Regions from separate parts of the Homo sapiens genome. Here all the other regions are linked to region 2. Evidence: promoter capture Hi-C in 16 types of primary human blood cells and fetal thymus (Javierre and others, 2016). All regions are on one chromosome and are shown on one strand. Each heading gives the region's core, a stretch centred on a gene start or on the middle of the fragment in contact. The rest is flanking DNA. Distances are from core to core; before and after follow the strand shown.

Region 1 (3,431 bases), core at 395-2,894, 400 kb after region 2:
TGTAGAAAGTAGAATGATAAATCCTCACTTCAATCCTAGCCCCTAGAGGGTGGTCAGTTTCTTTTTTCTGTTTTTTTTTTGAGACAGAGTTTCGCTCTTGTTGTCCAGGCTGGAGGGCAATGACGCAACCTTGGCTCACTGCAAACTCTGCCTCTCCTGGGTTCAAGCAATTCTCCTGCCTCAGCCTCCCAAGTAGCTGGGATTACAGGCATGCATCACCACGCATGGCTAATTTTGTATTTTTAGTAGACACGGGGTTTCTCATCTTGGTCAGACTGGTCTCGAACTCCCGAACTCAGGCAATCCGCCCACTTCAGCCTCCCAAAGTGCTGGGATTACAGGCATGAGCCACCGCACCCAGCTGGGGTTGGTCAGTTTCTAAGAGTTTGATGTGTATGGTCCTAGAACACTATGTGTGCATGTGGGTTTTTCTGTTATTCATTTTTTGCTTTAAAAAAAATGGGATCAACTGGGTGCGGTGGCTCACGCCTGTAATCCCAGCACTTTGGGAGGCCGAGACGGGCAGATCACCTGAGGTCAGGAGTTCGAGACCAGCTTGGCCAACATGGCAAAACCCTGTCTCTACAAAAAATACAAAAATAAGCTGGGTGTGGTGGCAGACACCTGTAATCCCAGCTACTCAGGAGGCTGAGGCAGGAGGATCACTCAAACCTGGGAGTCAGAAGTTGTAGTGAACCGAGATCGCGCCACTGCACTCTAGCCTGGGTAACAGAGGGAGACTCCATCTCAAAAAAAAAAAAAGAAAAAAGTGCGGGTGCGGTGGCGCACACCTGTAATCCTAGCACTTTGGGAGGCTGAGGCAGGCGGATCACAAGGTCAGCAGTTCAAGACCAGCCTGGCCAAGATGGTAAAACCCTGTCTCTACCAAAAATACAAAAAAATTAGCCGGGCATGGTGGCGGTCGCCTGTAATCCCAGCTACTCAGGAGGCTGAGGCAGAGAATGGCTTGAACCTGGGAGGCAGAGGCTGCAGTGAGCTGAGATGGCACCACTGCACTCCAGCCTGGGCGACAGAGCGAGACTCTGTCTGAAAAAAAAAAAGAAAAAAGAAAAAAAAAGTTGGTTTTGTTGGCACTCGCTGTCTAACAACTACCAAATTGCAGTTAGAAAACTTTTCACATTAGTGTAGGAAACTTTTTGCAGGCCTAGTTCCTCGATAGCCAAAGGCCAGCTTTGTAAGCAGGCCCTTCTAACGACAGCAGCCTCAAGGCTGATACGTTAACTCTTTTGTGCATAATATCTTACCCTCTGGAGTATCAAGAAGAGATAACAAAAATATTTTTGAATCTCAGAGCAGAAATCAGACCATGAAAGTAGTCTTATTAAAAGGAGAAAAAGTCCTCATCTTTTTAAAAGCAAGATCATGCTAGAGCTTCCAAGTTAAGATTTTTCAATCAGTGTGCTTTGATAAGCCACACTGGCTCATTCCTTTGATCATACATACTCTTCTTTTCGAGATGGAGTCTCACTCTGCCGCCCAGGCTGGAATGCAGTGGTGGGATCTCGGCTCACTGCCACCTCCGCCTCCTGGGTTCAAGCGATTCTCCTGCCTCAGCCTCCTGAGTAGCTGAGACTACAGGCGTACCACCATGCCCAGCTAATTTTTTTTTTGTATTTTTAGTAGAGACGGGGTTTCACCATGTTGGCCAGGATGGTCTCGATCTCTTGACCTTGTGATGTGCCCGCCTCGGCCTCCCAAAGTGCTGGGATTACAAGCGTGAGCCACCGGACCTGGCCATACATACTCTTCTTTGCTACTAAGTTCTTTTTTTCTGTGTCTGGCAAATTCCTATTTGTTCTTCAAACCCATTCCTGAGTTAAATCATTCACTTTTGTGTTATCTCCACTGTTGCATTCATTACATCCTATTGTTAGTTAGTTGTTTACTTATATATCTTTCCTACAAAATTCTGAGTCCCCTGATGGCATGAATTTTGTCTCATCTTTGTACTCCTAAGGTCAAATACATAGACCCTCAATTTAGTAACAATATATAATAAATGGTATGGAAACATCATATATTAGTCCTTAAAAAATTATTTGGAAACTAAATTTAATAGAAGGCTTAATATCATACACCAAATAAGTAATAATAATAACCTAACTTTTTTGAGATGGAGTCTTGCTCTGTCGCCAGGCTGTAGTGCAGTGGTGCGATCTCGGCTCACCGCAACCTCCACCTCCTGGATTCATGTGATTCTCCTGCCTCATCTTCCCGAGTAGCTGGGACTATACAGGTGCATACCACCATGCCCAGCTAATTTTTGTATTTTTAGTAGAGATGGGGTTTCACCATGTGGGCCAGGATGGTCTCCATCTCTTGACCTCGTGATCCGCCCGCCTCAGCCTCCCAAAATGCTGAGATTACAGGTATGAGCCACCATGCCTGGCCAGCCTAACTTTTAAGATGGAATTAGTTATGGCAGGATTAACAAAATCAAATATCACATCTTATAGAAGAATTTTTAGTGATCAATGTGAGGTGTATGTTCTAAATTTCATCTCATAAAAGCAAAATAAGGTCTGAATATCAAACAAAGCAAAATACAATAAGACATCAAAGAGTAAATACCACTAAATCAACCACAGTAACCCTGAGACACTGGAGTCTCTATGAGAAAGAAACATATTTGGATAATTATTGATCTCTAAATTTTAAATGAACTTAAATCTTTCTTAAGAACACATGATGGCCGGGCGCGGTGGCTCACACTTGTAATCCCAGCACTTTGGGAGGCCGAGGTGGGCAGATTGCCTGAGGCTGGGAGTTCAAGACCAGCCTGGCCAACATGGAGAAACTCTGTCTACTAAAAAAACTAGAAAATTAGCCAGGCATGGTGGCGCATGCCTGTAATCCCAGCTACTCAGGAGGCTGAGGCAGGATAATCGCTTGAACCCAGGAGGCGGAGGTTGCGGTGAGCCGACATCATCGCACCATTGCACTCCATCCTGGGCAAAAACAGTGAAACTTTGTCTCAAAAAAAAAAAGATCTGTATTTTTTAAACTTTTGGAATTGTCTTGTTTTTAAAATTTGATCTGCCACAAAAAACTTTAAAGTTTAACAGTCCCGTGGGAATTACTCGTTCCTGTTAGTAAATAACCATAAATGAAGGTCACATATCTGTAAACCATGCACACATTTCCCACCTGGGACTAACTGGTTCAAAGAAAGTCAGCATAGCAGGCTCGTGACTGCAGGACACCAAGAATTGTAGTCTGATGACTAGCAAACCAGCTCAATGTTTTGTTCATATTAGAAGTAACTCTTAATTACTTACTCTACCTTAAATTTAGGCCTCAACAATTTTAGTCCCCAATTAATGGGTCTGTATATTTGATAATTCTAACATTTTGGTTAAATAATAATTTATGAACATTACCAGCTATACAGTAGCTGAGTGGTAGAATAT
Region 2 (3,611 bases), core at 780-3,279:
TCAAGAAAAATAAAGTAGACGCGGCATAGAGGGAGTGTTTTCCGCAAGTTTAAAATCAGATGGCTTTTGAGCAAAGCACTAAAGGAGGTGAACAACAAGGCTATGCTGACATCTGGGGGAAGAAAGTCCCAAGCCCAGGAAACAAACAGTAAGTGCAAAGGCTCGCAAGGGAAAATCCCTGGAGTGATGGAGAAACAGTTTGGAGAGAAATTAATTTGGCTTATTATCAGTCTCCTTCCACTAGGAGAGCAGCAGGTAATGAGGTCCGAGAAGTAACGGGAGGTAGCAGACCTTCGAGCCTAGTAGGATGTTGTAGGTCCTTTGGCTTTCTCTAGGATGAGATGGGAAGCCAATGGAGGCGTTTCAGCCAAGGGAGCAACAGAATCTCATGGACAAGATCACTTGCTGCTGGGTTGAGAAGGGAAAGGAACAGGTATCGAAGAGGAAAGATCAGTTAGGAGGCCACTGCAATCATTCCAGAAATTACTCATACCAGAAATTAATCAGAGACGTTTGATGCATTTACAAAAGCGGTGGTAGGGGGGCGCGGGATGTGCTTGTAGAATACAAAAGAGGTAGAGAAACATTAAACATTTTGAATGTTTTAAGTTTCTTTTTTTTCTTTTTTTTTTTTTGATACGGAGTCTCCCTGTGTCACCCAGGCTGGAGTGCAGTGGCGCGATCTCGGCTCACTGCAAGCTCCGCCTCCCGGGTTCACGCCATTCTCCTGCCTCAGCCTCTCCGAGTAGCTGGGACTACAGGCGCCCGCCACCATGCCCGGTTAATTTTTTGTATTTTTAGTAGAGACGGGGTTTCACCGTGGTCTACGATCTCCTGACCTCATGCTCCGCCCGCCTCGGCCTCCCAAAGTACTGGGATTACAAGCGTGAGCCACCAACGCCCGGCCTGAATGTTTTAAGTTTCAAGGAAAAGACCAATTTGGCAGCTACTCTGCTACCTCGTCACCTCCAGGTGACGTTGGGAGTACTGGGGAGCTAGGTTTCCAGAACTTTTTGCTCTTGAGTGACCTAAGACCCTAGCAGAGTTTGGTCAGTGTGATTAAGAATGAGCCTCTGTGGGTCTGTTTAGGATGCTTGCCCCCTCCCATTTCCTTAACTTGCCTGAATTCCTGCTGGGAATACAGATTCGGGGCCCTTCCCACTCTGTAAATATGGGAAAAGGTCTAGGAAGTATATACTCCTAGCAATAATATGTAGGGGTTCTATGACTAGGAAATTTGGGGAACTGTCCCCCTGACCGCTCCATCCGTAACTTCTGCACACCTTTTGGGGTACGCCGCCGACCTGGAAAGCGTTGCAGGGCGCTCATGCTGCCCGCAGGTGGCGCCACGTGATCGCGAGCCGCAGAGAGCCCGTACCCTAGGAGTCTCGAGGCGCGAGGACTGCTGGTCCGCAGCTGTGCCGGGGCCACCGACGCCGCTTACCCCGGCGGAGCGCCGCGCAGGTGGAGTTGGGGACAGCGGCCGGTGCCCCGGCTTTTTAGGCTGTGTGCATCCCAAGCCGCCTCTAGTTGGCTTCTCGGGCTTCCGGGGCAGGAGGGCGCGCGGCTTTGTGCCTACGAATTGAGAACTGGAGAGCCAGTAACCGGTGCACCGGGAACCTGCCGCCTTGCGCCGCAGGGCTTTAGTCCAAACCTGGCCGGTCCAGGCTCCGGGATCTACTACAGGGGCCCCTGGGGAGCGCGGGCCCCAGGGACGGCTCCTTCCCATTGGCAGCAGGACGGATGCCACGCCCCTTTTTCTTCAGCTCTCATCTTTGACTGGCTCTCGAGTCCCAGATGGCCACGCCCCCTCCCCTCGCACATACACAAGAGTCACGCGCCTTTCAGTTGGAAACTTGGCGTGCAGACGGGGACGGTGGCTCTCGTCGCCCCACCCACTTACCTTGCCATTGGTCCGCGGAGCGGCACACGGTCACGCCCCCATTCCAGCCCCCTGGCTGGGAGGGCGGGCACCCGCTTGTGATTGGCTGGTCGGCCTGCCTCTCGCGGGAGCAGCCGGCGCTCCTCTCCCTCCCTCTTTCCCTCCCGCGAGCCTCGGGGTTCCTCAGCTGGCTGAGGTGGAGTCAGTGTCAGTCAGGGAGGCGAACTGCTGAGCACTGGCCGCGGACGCTCCGTTGCAGTCTCGCCCAGGGGCCGGTACCTGCGCTCGCGCCGCCGGGTTGAAAGGATGAAGCCGCAGCTGGAGCAGCCACCCTATGATTGGCTGTGGCGCTTGTGAACCCAAAGTAAAGATGGCGGGCGGGCAGGCAGCCGCCGCACTGCCCACTTGGAAGATGGCGGCGCGCCGCAGCCTCAGCGCTCGCGGCCGGGGGATCCTGCAGGCGGCTGCGGGGCGGCTGCTGCCGCTGCTCCTGCTGAGCTGCTGCTGCGGTGCGGGCGGCTGCGCAGCGGTGGGCGAGAATGAGGAGACGGTGATCATCGGGCTGCGACTGGAGGACACGAACGACGTGTCGTTCATGGAAGGGGGGGCGCTGCGGGTGAGCGAACGGACCCGGGTCAAGCTGCGGGTGTACGGGCAGAACATCAATAACGAGACGTGGTCCCGCATCGCCTTCACCGAGCACGAGCGGCGGCGCCACAGCCCGGGGGAGCGCGGGCTGGGGGGCCCCGCGCCGCCAGAGCCGGACAGCGGCCCCCAGCGATGCGGCATCCGCACCTCAGACATCATCATCTTGCCCCACATCATTCTCAACCGCCGCACCTCGGGCATCATCGAGATCGAGATCAAACCGCTACGCAAGATGGAGAAGAGCAAGTCCTATTACCTGTGCACGTCGCTCTCCACGCCCGCCCTGGGCGCCGGCGGCTCGGGGTCCACGGGTGGCGCCGTCGGGGGCAAGGGTGGCTCGGGGGTGGCCGGGCTCCCGCCGCCCCCGTGGGCCGAGACCACCTGGATTTACCACGACGGCGAGGACACCAAGATGATCGTAGGCGAAGAGAAGAAGTTCCTGCTGCCCTTCTGGCTGCAGGTGATCTTCATTTCGCTGCTGCTGTGCCTGTCGGGCATGTTCAGCGGCCTCAACCTGGGGCTCATGGCCCTGGACCCGATGGAGCTGCGCATCGTGCAGAACTGCGGCACGGAGAAGGAGAAGAATTACGCCAAGCGCATCGAGCCGGTGCGCAGGCAGGGCAACTACCTGCTGTGCTCACTGCTGCTGGGCAACGTGCTGGTCAACACCACGCTCACCATCCTGCTCGACGACATCGCCGGCTCGGGCCTCGTGGCCGTGGTAGTCTCCACCATCGGTATCGTCATCTTCGGAGAGATCGTGCCCCAGGCCATCTGCTCCCGGCATGGCCTGGCTGTGGGGGCCAACACCATCTTCCTCACCAAGTTTTTCATGATGATGACCTTCCCCGCTTCCTACCCGGTCAGCAAGCTGCTGGACTGCGTCCTGGGCCAGGAGATAGGCACCGTCTATAACCGGGAAAAACTGCTGGAGATGCTCCGGGTCACCGATCCCTACAACGACCTCGTTAAGGAGGAGCTGAACATCATCCAAGGGGCGCTGGAGCTCCGCACCAAGACGGTGGAGGACGTGATGACCCCACTCCGGGACTGCTTCATGATCACCGGCGAAGCCATCCTG
Region 3 (3,603 bases), core at 629-3,128, 340 kb after region 2:
AGCTCACTGCAACCTCTGCCTCCCGGGTTCAAGCAATTCTCCTGGCTCAGCCTCCTGAGTAGCTGGGATTACAGGTGGCCACCATCACGCCTGGCTAACTTTTGTATTTTTAGTAGAGACGGGGTTTCACCATATTGGCCAGATTGGTCTCAAACTCCTGACCTCAGGTCATCCTCTGGCTTCGGCCTCCCAAAGTGCTGGGATTACAGGAGTGAGCCACCGCGCCTGGCATATAGTTTTAAAGAAGATTTTAAATAGCCTTATAAACTGGGAAAAGAAACCCATAGTTCAGGAGTTGAGGCACTTTCTCTTGGTGTAGAGACAACTGGTGCAATGGAGAACACAGTACAAGGTCTTGAGTTAGAAACCTAAATTTATGACCTTGGGCAAGTCCCTTGACCTCTCTCCCTTTTTTACTTTTATCCACAGAATAAAAATATCAATGGTCACCTCACAGGATTCTTGTGAAAATGTTGTTTATATTAGGAAGTAGGATGTAAATGCTAGATTCTTTGGTAATGCACATCCTTTACTCTCACTTTCTTCTTCACTTTCTTTCCTTCCCACTTTCCTTCTTTTTTTCTGGTCCTACCTTTTTTCTCCTCTGTCTGTGTTTTGGGCCCACCAGGGGCCCCCTATAGCACTACAAGTGAAACCAGTGGGGTCTAAGTCATAACACTTCTTATAAAGAAGGATTGCACCAGGACCAGCCCACATAGCCAAATTCCTTTTTCTGTTGTCCCCAGAAAGCCACGTTAAGGACTCCCTTGCTGTTCTAAGCAGACTGCTTCTTTCACACATTTCCTCCCACCACCCAATGAAGGGCAGGGGCTGTGCTTTACATATTACATCTTTGTAACCCCCTCCCCTCCCTTACTGCACAAGGCTTTCCAAATAGTCTTTAGATGTCAACCTTGGATGCAGATTTTAACACACACATATTCTGCATTTTTTTTTTTTTTTTGAGACGGAGTTTCGGTCTTGTTGCCCAGGCTGGAGTGCAATGGCGTGATCTCGGCTCACTGCAACCTCTGCCTCCTGGGTTCAAGTGATTCTCCTGCCTCAGCCTCCCAAGTAGCCGGGATTACAGGCATGTGCCACCACGCCTGGCTAATTCTGTTTTTTTTTTTTAGTAGAGACAGGGTTTCACCATGTTGGCCAGGCTGGTCTCAAACTCCCGACCTCAGGTGATCTGCCTGCCTCGGCCTCCCAAAGTGCTGGGATTACAGGCATGAGCCACCATGCCTGGCCCATATTCTGCATTTTAATACACATTCTACATGTTGCCAGTAGATATTTGATATGGCTTGGCTCTGCCCCCACCCAAATCTCATCTTGAATTCCCACATGTTATGGGAGGAACATGGTGGGAGGTGATTGAATCATGGGGGTGGGTCTTTCTTGTGCTGTTCTGATGATAATGAGTAAGTCTCACAAGATCTGATGGTTTTAAAAAATGGGAGTTTCCCTGAACAAGCTCTCCACTCTTGTCTGCTGCCATGTGAGACATGCCTTTTACCTTCCGCCATGATTGTGAGGCCTCCCCACCCATGTGAAACTGTAAGTCCAATAAACCTCTTTCTTTAGTAAATTGTCCAGTCTCGGGTATGTCTTTATCAGCAGTGTGAAAATGGACTAATACAGTAAATTGGTACCGAGAGTGGGGTGCTACTGAAAAGATACCCGAAAATGTGGAAGCAACTTTGGAACTGGGTAACAGGCAGAGGTTGGAATAATTTGGAGGGCTCAGAAGAAGACAGGAAAATGTGGGAAAGTTTGGAACTCCCTAGAGACTTGTTGAATGGCTTTGACCAATATGCTGATAATGATATGGACAATGAAATCCAGGCTGAGATGGTCTCAGATGGAGATGAGGAAGTTATTGGGAACTAGAGCAAAGGTGACTCTTGTTATGTTTTAGCAAAGAGACTGGTGGCATTTTGCCCCTGCCCTGGAGATTTGTGGAACTTTGAACTTGAGAAAGGTGATTTAGGGTTTCTGGCAGAAGAAATTTCTAAGCAGCAAAGCATTCAAGAGGTGACTTGGGTGTTGTTAAAAGCATTCAGTTTTAAAAGGGAAACAGAGCATAAAAGTTTGCAAAATTTGTAGTCTGACAAGCAATAAAGAAGAAAAACCCATTTTCTGAGGAGCAATTCAAGCCAGCTGCAGAAATTTGCTTAAGTAATAAGGAGCCTAATATTAATCTCTGACAGTGGGAAAAATGTCTCCAGGGCAGGTCAGAGGTCCTCACAGCAGACCCCCCACCCCCAATCACAGGCCTGGAGGTTTAGGAGAAAAAAAATAGTTTAGTGGGCCAGGCCCAGGGTCCCTCTGATGTGTGCAGTCTAGGGACTTTGTGCCCTGCAACCCAGCTGCTGCAGCTGTGACTAAAAGGGGCCAAGTTGCAGCTCAGGTTGTTGCTTTAGAGGGTGGAAGCCCCAAGCCCTGGCAGCTTCTACGTGGTGTTGAGCCTGCAGGTGAACAGAAGTCAAGAATTGAGGTTTGGGAACCTCTGCCTAGATTTCAGAAAATGTATGGAAATGTCTGAATGCCCAGGCAGAAGTTTGCTGCAGGGGCGGGGCCCTCATGGAGAACCTCTTCTAGGACAGTGCAGAAGGGAAATGTGGGGTCCAAGCCCCCATGTAGAGTCCCTGCTGGAGCACCACCTAGTGGAGCTGTGAGAAGAGGGCCACCATCCTCCAGACTCCAGAATAGATCAACCGACAGCTTGCACTTTGCACCTGGAAAAATCGGACATTCAACATCAGCCTGTGAAAGCAGCCAAGAGGGCGGATATACCCTGCAAAACCACAGAGGCAGAGCTTCCCAAAGCCATGGGAGCCTACCTCTCGCATCAGCATGTCCTGGAAGTGAGTCACAGAGTCAAAGGAGATCATTTTGGAGCTTTAAGATATGACTGGGGGCCGGGCGTGGTAGATCACACCTGTAATCCCAGCACTTTGGGAGGCTGAGGCAGGTGGATCATGAGGTCAGGAGATCAAGACCACCCTGGCTAACACAGTGAAACCCCATCTCTACTAAAAATACAAAAAATTAGCCGGGCGTGGTGGTGGGTGCCTGTAGTCCCAGCTACTCTGGAGGCTGAGGCAGGAGAATAGTGTGAACCCAGGAGGCGGAGCTTGCAGCGAGCCGAGATCCTGCCACTGCACTCCAGCCTGGGCGACAGACCGAGACTCCATCACACACACACACACACACAAAAGATATGACTGCCCCACTGGATTTCAAACTTGCCTAGGGCCTGTAGCCCCTTTGTTTTGGCCAATTTCTCCAATTTGCAACAACTGTATTTACCCAGTGCCTGTACCCCCATTATATGTAGGAAGTAACTAACTTGTTTTTGATTTTACAGGTTCATAGGCAGACAGGACTTGCCTTGTCTCAGATGAGACTTTGGACTGTGGACTTTGGAGTAAATGCTGAAATGAGTTAAGACTTTGGGGGACTGTTGGGAAGGCATGATTGGTTTTGAAATGTGAGGACATGAGATTTGGGAGGGGCCAGGGGGGAATGATATGGTTTGGCTGTGTCCCCACCCAAATCTCATCTTGAATTCCCACGTGTTATGGGAGGAACCTGGAG
Region 4 (3,689 bases), core at 748-3,247, 320 kb after region 2:
TCTCAGCTCACTGCAAGCTCCGCTTCCCGGGTTCACGCCATTCTCCTGCTTCAGCCTCCCAAGTAGCTGGGACTACAGGTCCCCACCACCACGCCCAGCTAATTTTTTGTATTTTTAGTAGAGACGAGGTTTCACCGTATTAGCCAGGTTGGTCTCGACCTCCTGACCTCGTGATCCGCCCACCTCGGCCTCCCAAAGTGTCGGGATTACGGGCGTGAGCCACCAGGCCCGGCCAGGCCCTGTCTCTAAAAAAAAAAGACTGGGTGCAGTCTTTTTTTTACGCCTGTAATCCCAACACTTTGAGAGGCCAAAGCAGACAGATAGATCACCTAAGGTCAGGAGTTCAAGACCAGCCTGGCCAACATGGCGAAAACCCATCTCTACTAAAAATACAAAAAGTAGCCAGGATTGGTGGTGGGCACTTGTAGTCCCAGCTACTCGGGAGGCTGAGGCATGAGAATCATTTGAACCTGGGAGGCAGAAGTTGCTATGAGCTAAGATTGCACCACTACCTTTCAGCCTGGGTGACAGAGTGAGACTCCGTCTCAAAAAAAAAAAAAAGGAACAAAGAGAGTGCTTTGCAAACGAAGGAAGAACAAAAGAACAACAGAGGTTCCAGAAGACAGGAGTAGTTCATAGTGTCAAATGCCACACAAAGTGCAAGCAAAATAGCAATTGAAAACTACCTGCAGCCGGGTGCGGTGGCTCACGCCTGTAATCCCAGCACTTTGGGAGGCCCAGGCAGGCGGATCACCTGAGGCTAGAAGTTCAAGACCAGCCTGGCCAACATGGTGAAACCCTGTCTCTACTAAAAAATATACACAAAATTATCTGGGCATGGTGGCGGGCGCCTGTAGTCCCAGCTACTTGAGAGGCTGAGGCAGGAGAATTGCTTGAACCCGGGAGGCTGAGGCTGCAGTGAACCGAGATCGTGCCATTGCACTCCAGCCTGGGCAACAAGAGTGAAATTCCATCTCAAAAACAAACAAACAAAGAAACAAACAAAAAGCTACTTGCTAGATTGTGCAATTAGGAGGTTGCTGTGGCCTTGGGAAGAACAACTGGAGAGGTGGGGCCAGAAATGGAGTTAAGGGTGAGTGGGTAGCAAACAGGGCCTGCTCTTTTGATAAGCTCTGCTGTGAAGTGAACTTCCAAGACTGGCTTATAGCTAGAGAGAGGTACCTTTCTGAGGTGAGAGAAGCTTGACTGTTTATGTATGGAAGGAAAAGCCAGAAAGGAGAGAGTGAGGATGGAGGGAAGTGTGCTGCTGAGGATGGAGCCGAGCGCCGAGGAATTGGGAAGGATGGAATCCAGCACACACTGAGGGACTGGCCTCAGACAGCAAGAGGAGCACCACCCTGTGGACAAGAATGAAGAAAGGAGGCACTCATGGGCTGGGGTTTGGGAAAGAGATACAGGGAGCTGGGAGTAGGGGAAGGGAGTAAACCGATGGCAAGGAAGTTCCGGCCAGAGACCAGTTTGTTGGCATTTCTGAGCTGGACAATCATGACAAGGTCCAGGGCGTGCCTGACTGAGGCAGTTACGTCACTAGAGTTAGAAGGTCAAGAATTCTGAAATGGATAATCCTCGGGAACAGGTCTAGGGTGGAGAAAAAGTCTGGTAGGATCTATCCTCAGAGACAGATCAAGAGAAAGCTGTTTCTTGGCCTCCCACACAAACACATTGGGATTTTAAAAAATATTTCTTAGTCCTAGCTCATAACTTACCTAACTACTTTTGCCACAGTGTAAACCCATAGCTTCCTCAAGAAAAGATCAAACATTTAGAAAAAGTTAGACTGAAACTGTGAAGCAGGAGTCTGCCTGATAAATGTGGCTCTGTCCACTACATAATGGGTTTAATCTACATTTCCTTTTTTTTTTTTTTTTTTTTTTGTTGAGACAGGGTCTTGCTCTGTTGCCCAGGGTGGAGTGCAGTGGCACAATCACAGCTCACTGCAACCTTGACTTCCTGGGTTTCAGCGATCCTCCCACCTCAGCCTCCTGAGTAGCTGGGACTACAGGCAGGTGCCACCATGCCCATCTAATTTTTTTTTTTTTGGGGGGGGGACAAAGTCTCGCTCTGTTGCCAGGCTGGAGCACAGTGGCACGATCCCGGCTTACTGCAACCTCCACCACCTGGGTTCAAGCGATTCTCCTGCCTCGGCCTCCTGAGTAGCTGGGATTACAGGCACGCCCCACCATGCCCAGCTAATTTTTGTATTTTTAGTAGAGATGGGATTTCACCATGTTGGCCAGGATGGTCTCGATCTCTTCACCTCTTGATCCGCCTGCCTCAGTCTCCCAAAGTGCTGGGATTACAGGTGTGAGCCACTGTGCCCGGCCTTTTTTTATTTTCTGTAGGGATGAGGTCTCACTATGTTGCCCAGGTTGGTCTCAAACTCCTAGGCTCAAACCATTCTCCCGCCTTGGTCTCCCAAAGTGCTGGGATTACAGGCGTGAGCCACCATGCCTGGCCTTAATCTACTTTTCTGATTTAGACTATGACCTGGTCTCCATTCATTCTTCATTCATTCATTCATTCATTCATTCATTCAGCAACATGCATTAAATGCCCTCTCCCTGCCAGGTATTTTGCTAGGCTCTGGGGATTCAAAATGAAACATCCATGGTCCTTAGGGAGTTCACAAACAAGTGAAGGAGCCAATAATTAGCTCTGACGACATAAGAAGATACTATAGCAGAGGTGGGTAGAAAGTGCAATGGATCACGTGGACACAGAGAAAGCAACCTGGATTCGGGGAAAGCAGCACAGAAGAGCTGATGTGTGAGACGAAGCTTAAAGGAGAAGCAGAGTGCACCAGGCTGCAAAATGCAGGAAGTGAGAAAGGTGTGACTACCCAGATACAGTCAGGAAACTCAACAATCTGGTTTGGCAGAGCAGTAGTTCTTAAACTGTATTCTACACAAAAATCAGCCCCGGTATCATTAAAATGCAGGTTCCGAGGTATCAGCAACAGCTGGCTCAGTAGTTCTGGAGCACAGGAATTTGCATTTTCCATTCAGTAGGTCTCGTGCCCAGGAATCATGTCCTGAATGATTCTGAAGAAGATGGTCCACAGACTACACTGAGAAACACTGGGCTAGAGTACGGGGCACATGGCAGGAGGAAGGAGAGGGGATTGGGATGAAGAAGAAAATTATTTTTATTTTTATTTTTTGAGACAGAGTCTTGCTCTGTCGCCCAGGCTAGAGTGCAGTAGCGTAATCTCAGCTCACTGCAACCTCCACCTCCCGGATTCCAGCGATTCTCCTGCCTCAGCCTCCCAAGTAGTTGGGACTACGGGCGTGCACCACCACGCCTGGCTAATTTTTGTATTTTTAGTAGAGATGGGGTTTCACCATGTTCGCCAGGCTGGTCTTGAACTCCTGGCCTCAGGTGATACACCCTCCTTGGCCTCCCAAAGTGCTGGGATTACAGGCGTGAGCCACTGCGCCTGGCCCGAAGCAGAAATTTTGGTCAGGACCACATTGTGCTAAGGAAATGGGAGCTGAGTTTATAGGCAGTGAGGCATCCTTTGGGAAAGCCCTGATGAAATGCATTGGAAAGCCCAGTCTAGAGGCAGTATCAATGACGGCCTGGAGAAAAAGAGGGTCACTGTATGTAGGGAAGGCATGAAGGATCTCTGTAACGGAAAGGATTCAGAGATCAAACCACAACAAGGACCC
Region 5 (3,372 bases), core at 542-3,041, 500 kb after region 2:
TTACAGTGGCAGAGAGCAGGGAACCACTAACACATGGCATATTGGAACCCACGAAGCGGAAAGATAGAGGTAGCTAGATAAGATTTTGGGGCTAGAGGGGTTCATACGCATTCCTTCCTGTGTGTCAGAACAAATGGAAGCTGTCCCTGAAAGTCCTGTTACAGTGAGGCTTTTCAGCAGTGGGCTGCTGACCTCTTTCCTCTCGGGTCCCTAGGGCCAGCCTGCAGTTCTGGCTTTCCTGGGGCTCCGTGGAGGGACTTGAGAGAGGAGTGCGATGGGTCCACCCATGAGTCCTGGTGAATGTGCACGTACATGCATGCTGGGTGGTTGGGGTGGTGGGTGGGGTTTGGAAGAAAGCTGCCTCTTAGAGATCCTTGGTGCCGGAGTTTAATGCCTCCAAGCCCTGCCTAATCCAGACCAGGTTGTTCTCTGTTCATGACAAGTGCTATTTTTGTCTTTCTCTTCCCTGGGTAGTTGGTAGATGTGAAGGTTTTAGAGAAGACCAAAGATGGGCTGGAGGTGGCTGTCCTGCCCCACAACATCCGTGCTTTCCTCCCCACATCTCATCTGTCGGACCACGTTGCCAACGGCCCATTGTTACATCATTGGCTCCAGGCAGGTGACATCCTTCACCGAGTCCTGTGTCTGAGCCAGAGCGAGGGGCGTGTTGTATCCTTGACTGGTATCTGTGGAGCAGAGGAAGGTGGGGGGCCATGGGTGCTTGGATGGGAAATTCTGGGGAAATTAGACAGCTATTTGACCTCAGAAATATCTCCACAAAACCAAACCAGTGATGAAGCCTGTGCTATGGAAAGTAAGAGCAGGCCTGAGTAAGTGCTGCCAGCAGATGCTGGTGGTCAGGGCGGAGTAGCCTGAAAGGTTGCAGAGAGGGGGACTCTCGGAGGCTGGAGAAGGAGGCCCAGTGGGGTGCTTGGGAGCACATCTAGTTTTCTTGGGGCTTTCAGTGCCTGCCCCTTGGGTTAGAACCAATAATAAGGTGGCTTCTGTCCCCCTTTCCTCTTTTTTTTTTTCCCCTATGCCTTCTCCCCGCGGGGCTATAGGCTCAGGAATATTCCCTTTGGTCTTTGCATGGGTGCTTTGAAGGAGCTTCTCACAGAATGTAAAGTTCATTCTCCTGGGAGTAAAAATGGGCAGAGGAGGGAAAATGAGTTCATCAGTGTAAAGAGGGAGTAGTAGAGGATTGTGTGATGGCTGATCCAGCTGCCAGACCAGGGGGATGAGCCATCCCTTTTTGGTGTCCTCTAGTAATCTGCAGATTAGTGAATCGGGAATGGAATAAAACCGTGATTCTCAGCTGTAGTGTGCAGTTGGGCCATGCAGATGGCTGGGCCACACCAAAGTTTCTAATTCAGTAGGTCTAGGTGGTGCTTGAGAACTTGCATTTCTCCTAAGTTTCAGGCGATGTTGATGCTGCTGGTCTGCACACTTAGAGAATCGCTGTAGCAGCAGAGATCAGCCTGCAGTTCTGTCCTTCTCTGTGGAGAAAGGAGATGGGAGAGATGGACATTTCATCTGCCCTTTCTGGAACATTCCTTGATGAAGTACCACTAGCTTCTTTGCAGGAAGCCAGCCTTGGTCTCCACAGTAGAAGGTGGCCAGGATCCCAAGAACTTCTCAGAAATCCATCCTGGAATGCTGCTCATTGGTTTTGTGAAGAGCATCAAGGACTATGGCGTGTTCATCCAGTTCCCCTCAGGTCTTAGCGGACTGGCCCCAAAAGCTGTAAGTTCAACTCCATGTACAAGGGCTTTGAGGAGAGATACAAGGTCACAGAACCTGAGGGCGGGTAGGGAGGAGTAGGATACTTTATTCCTTTTTTTTTTGAGACAGTCTTGTTCTGTCGCCCAGGCTGGCTTGCAGTGGTGTGATCTCTGCTCGCTGTAACCTCCGCCTCCTGGGCTCAAGCGATTTTCCTGCTTCTGCCTTCCAAGTAGCTGGGATTACAGGTGCCCACCAACATGCCAGGCTTTTTTTTTTTTTTTTTTTTGAGTAGTAGAGACAGAGTTTTACCATGTTGGCCAGGCTGGTCTTGAACTCCTGACCTTAAGTGATCCACCTGCCTCGGCCTCCCAAAGTGCTGCGATTACAGGTGTGAGCCACCGCACCTGGCCAAGGATACTTTACTCTTTTGAAAGATTTTCAGGGGTACCTCTTAAGGTGTGTGTGACATAAAGGCACCTGGGAGGGGTGAGTGCAGCTGAGCTTTTGGCCCATGTTCCTCTCGCCCAGCTGTGTGACCATCTGGAGGAAGGGACACCTTTCCCACTCCACACTACACATTGAAGGCCTTAGTCTCCAGTGTGAAGATGACTGCACTTGTTTTTATTCTCTCAGCACACTTAGACAGGGAAATTGATCATCCTGAGCTACTGAGTACAGGTTTTGCAGACTTCTGAGGTTTTTGAGGTGTTAAGGGACCAGAATGTCTTTGAAATTATTACCTCCCCCACCCCCATGTCATTGAGTCCTGCACTTTCAGATGGGAACAATCCCAGCAGTCCCCTAGCAGAGCCTCCTGGTGTGCCTGGCACGTCAGCCGAGGCCTATTGAGGGGATGGGACTCACCAAAGTCATGGAAGACAGCGAGCAAATGGCGTGCAGCTGATTGCTGCTGCAGATCATTCATCAGTATTTCTTCCCCTCTGTAGGCCTGTCTCCCTGGTGTTTTGCCTGGGAAAATCTCATTTGCATCCCCTGCCAGAAACATTTTAAAAATGGGAGCAGAGGGGAGGGCCCCAGAAACAAGCCCAGTGAGGGGCAGAGGGTTCCCGTGGGTTGTTAGGGGTGAGGACAGCCCTGGTGTCTGCCTGGCTTGCTGTGAATGTGCCTTCTTGACTGGGTGCCCTCTCCTGGAGGCTCTGTTTTTTTTGTTGTTGTTGTTTGTTTTTGTTTTTGTTTTTTTTTTTTGAGATGGAGTCTCACTCTGTCGCCCAGGCTGGAGTGCAGTGGCGCAATCTCGGCTTACAGCAACCTCTGCCTCCCGGATTCAAGTGATTCTCCTGCCCCAGCCTCCCGAGTAGCTGGAATTGCAGGTGCATGCCACCACTCCTGGCTAATTTTTGTATTTTTAGTAGAGTCAGGGTTTCACCATGTTGGTCAGGCTGGTCTGGAACTCCTGACCCCATGATCTGCCCGCCTCGGCCTCCCGAAGTGCTGGGATTACAGGCGTGAGCCACTGCTCCCAGCCAATCCGGAGGCTCTGTTTTTATGGAAGGGAAGTAGAGCTGTGTTCAGAGAGGGCTTGGGGGAGCTTCCTAGGCCCCATTTCCCCCTACTCACGTACCCCTTTCCAGGAACATCAAGTGGGTTGTCTTAATGAAGACCTTTCCTCTTCTCATCTCCTGCCTGTTC

The links. The method cuts DNA at HindIII sites, captures the fragments that hold promoters and counts their contacts. A CHiCAGO score of 5 or more calls a contact.
Region 1: a fragment that was not itself captured here is called in contact with the fragment with the promoter of CNNM2 in region 2 in 6 of 17 cell types (endothelial precursors, M0 macrophages, erythroblasts and 3 more); the score reaches 10.8 in endothelial precursors.
Region 3: a contact is called between a fragment that was not itself captured here and the fragment with the promoter of CNNM2 in region 2, in 7 of 17 cell types (megakaryocytes, endothelial precursors, erythroblasts and 4 more). The highest score is 11.1, in megakaryocytes.
Region 4: a fragment that was not itself captured here is called in contact with the fragment with the promoter of CNNM2 in region 2 in 17 of 17 cell types (naive B cells, erythroblasts, endothelial precursors and 14 more); the score reaches 24.7 in naive B cells.
Region 5: a contact is called between a fragment that was not itself captured here and the fragment with the promoter of CNNM2 in region 2, in 1 of 17 cell types (neutrophils). The highest score is 5.7, in neutrophils.

What each region holds. Positions count from the first base shown.
Region 1 is chr10:103,317,694-103,321,124 of GRCh38, forward strand. The region is part of intron 8 of PCGF6 (polycomb group ring finger 6); the gene reads right to left. Among named protein-coding and RNA genes, the nearest start is that of PCGF6, 32 kb to the right of the region's middle. The HindIII fragment of the contact is 3,787 bases long and covers 1-3,431 here.
Region 2 is chr10:102,916,265-102,919,875 of GRCh38, forward strand. It overlaps CNNM2 (cyclin and CBS domain divalent metal cation transport mediator 2), which reads left to right and starts at 2,030. Exons shown (of 8, transcript NM_017649.5): 1 at 2,030-3,611. The coding sequence starts at 2,217. LOC107984265 (a long non-coding RNA gene) reads right to left here and starts at 2,071. Exons shown (of 3, transcript NR_160733.1): 1 at 1,904-2,071. RefSeq lists enhancers at 983-1,669, 1,670-2,356 and silencers at 1,826-2,005, 2,616-2,705. The HindIII fragment of the contact is 7,117 bases long and covers 1-3,611 here.
Region 3 is chr10:103,257,470-103,261,072 of GRCh38, forward strand. No RefSeq gene overlaps it. Among named protein-coding and RNA genes, the nearest start is that of RPEL1, 13 kb to the left of the region's middle. The HindIII fragment of the contact is 4,680 bases long and covers 1-3,603 here.
Region 4 is chr10:103,237,642-103,241,330 of GRCh38, forward strand. No RefSeq gene overlaps it. Among named protein-coding and RNA genes, the nearest start is that of RPEL1, 6.4 kb to the right of the region's middle. RefSeq lists an enhancer at 2,652-2,751. The HindIII fragment of the contact is 1,597 bases long and covers 1,200-2,796 here.
Region 5 is chr10:103,417,966-103,421,337 of GRCh38, forward strand. PDCD11 (programmed cell death 11) reads left to right here. Exons shown (of 36, transcript NM_014976.2): 15 at 475-669; 16 at 1,573-1,743. Among named protein-coding and RNA genes, the nearest start is that of PDCD11, 23 kb to the left of the region's middle. The HindIII fragment of the contact is 7,810 bases long and covers 1-3,372 here.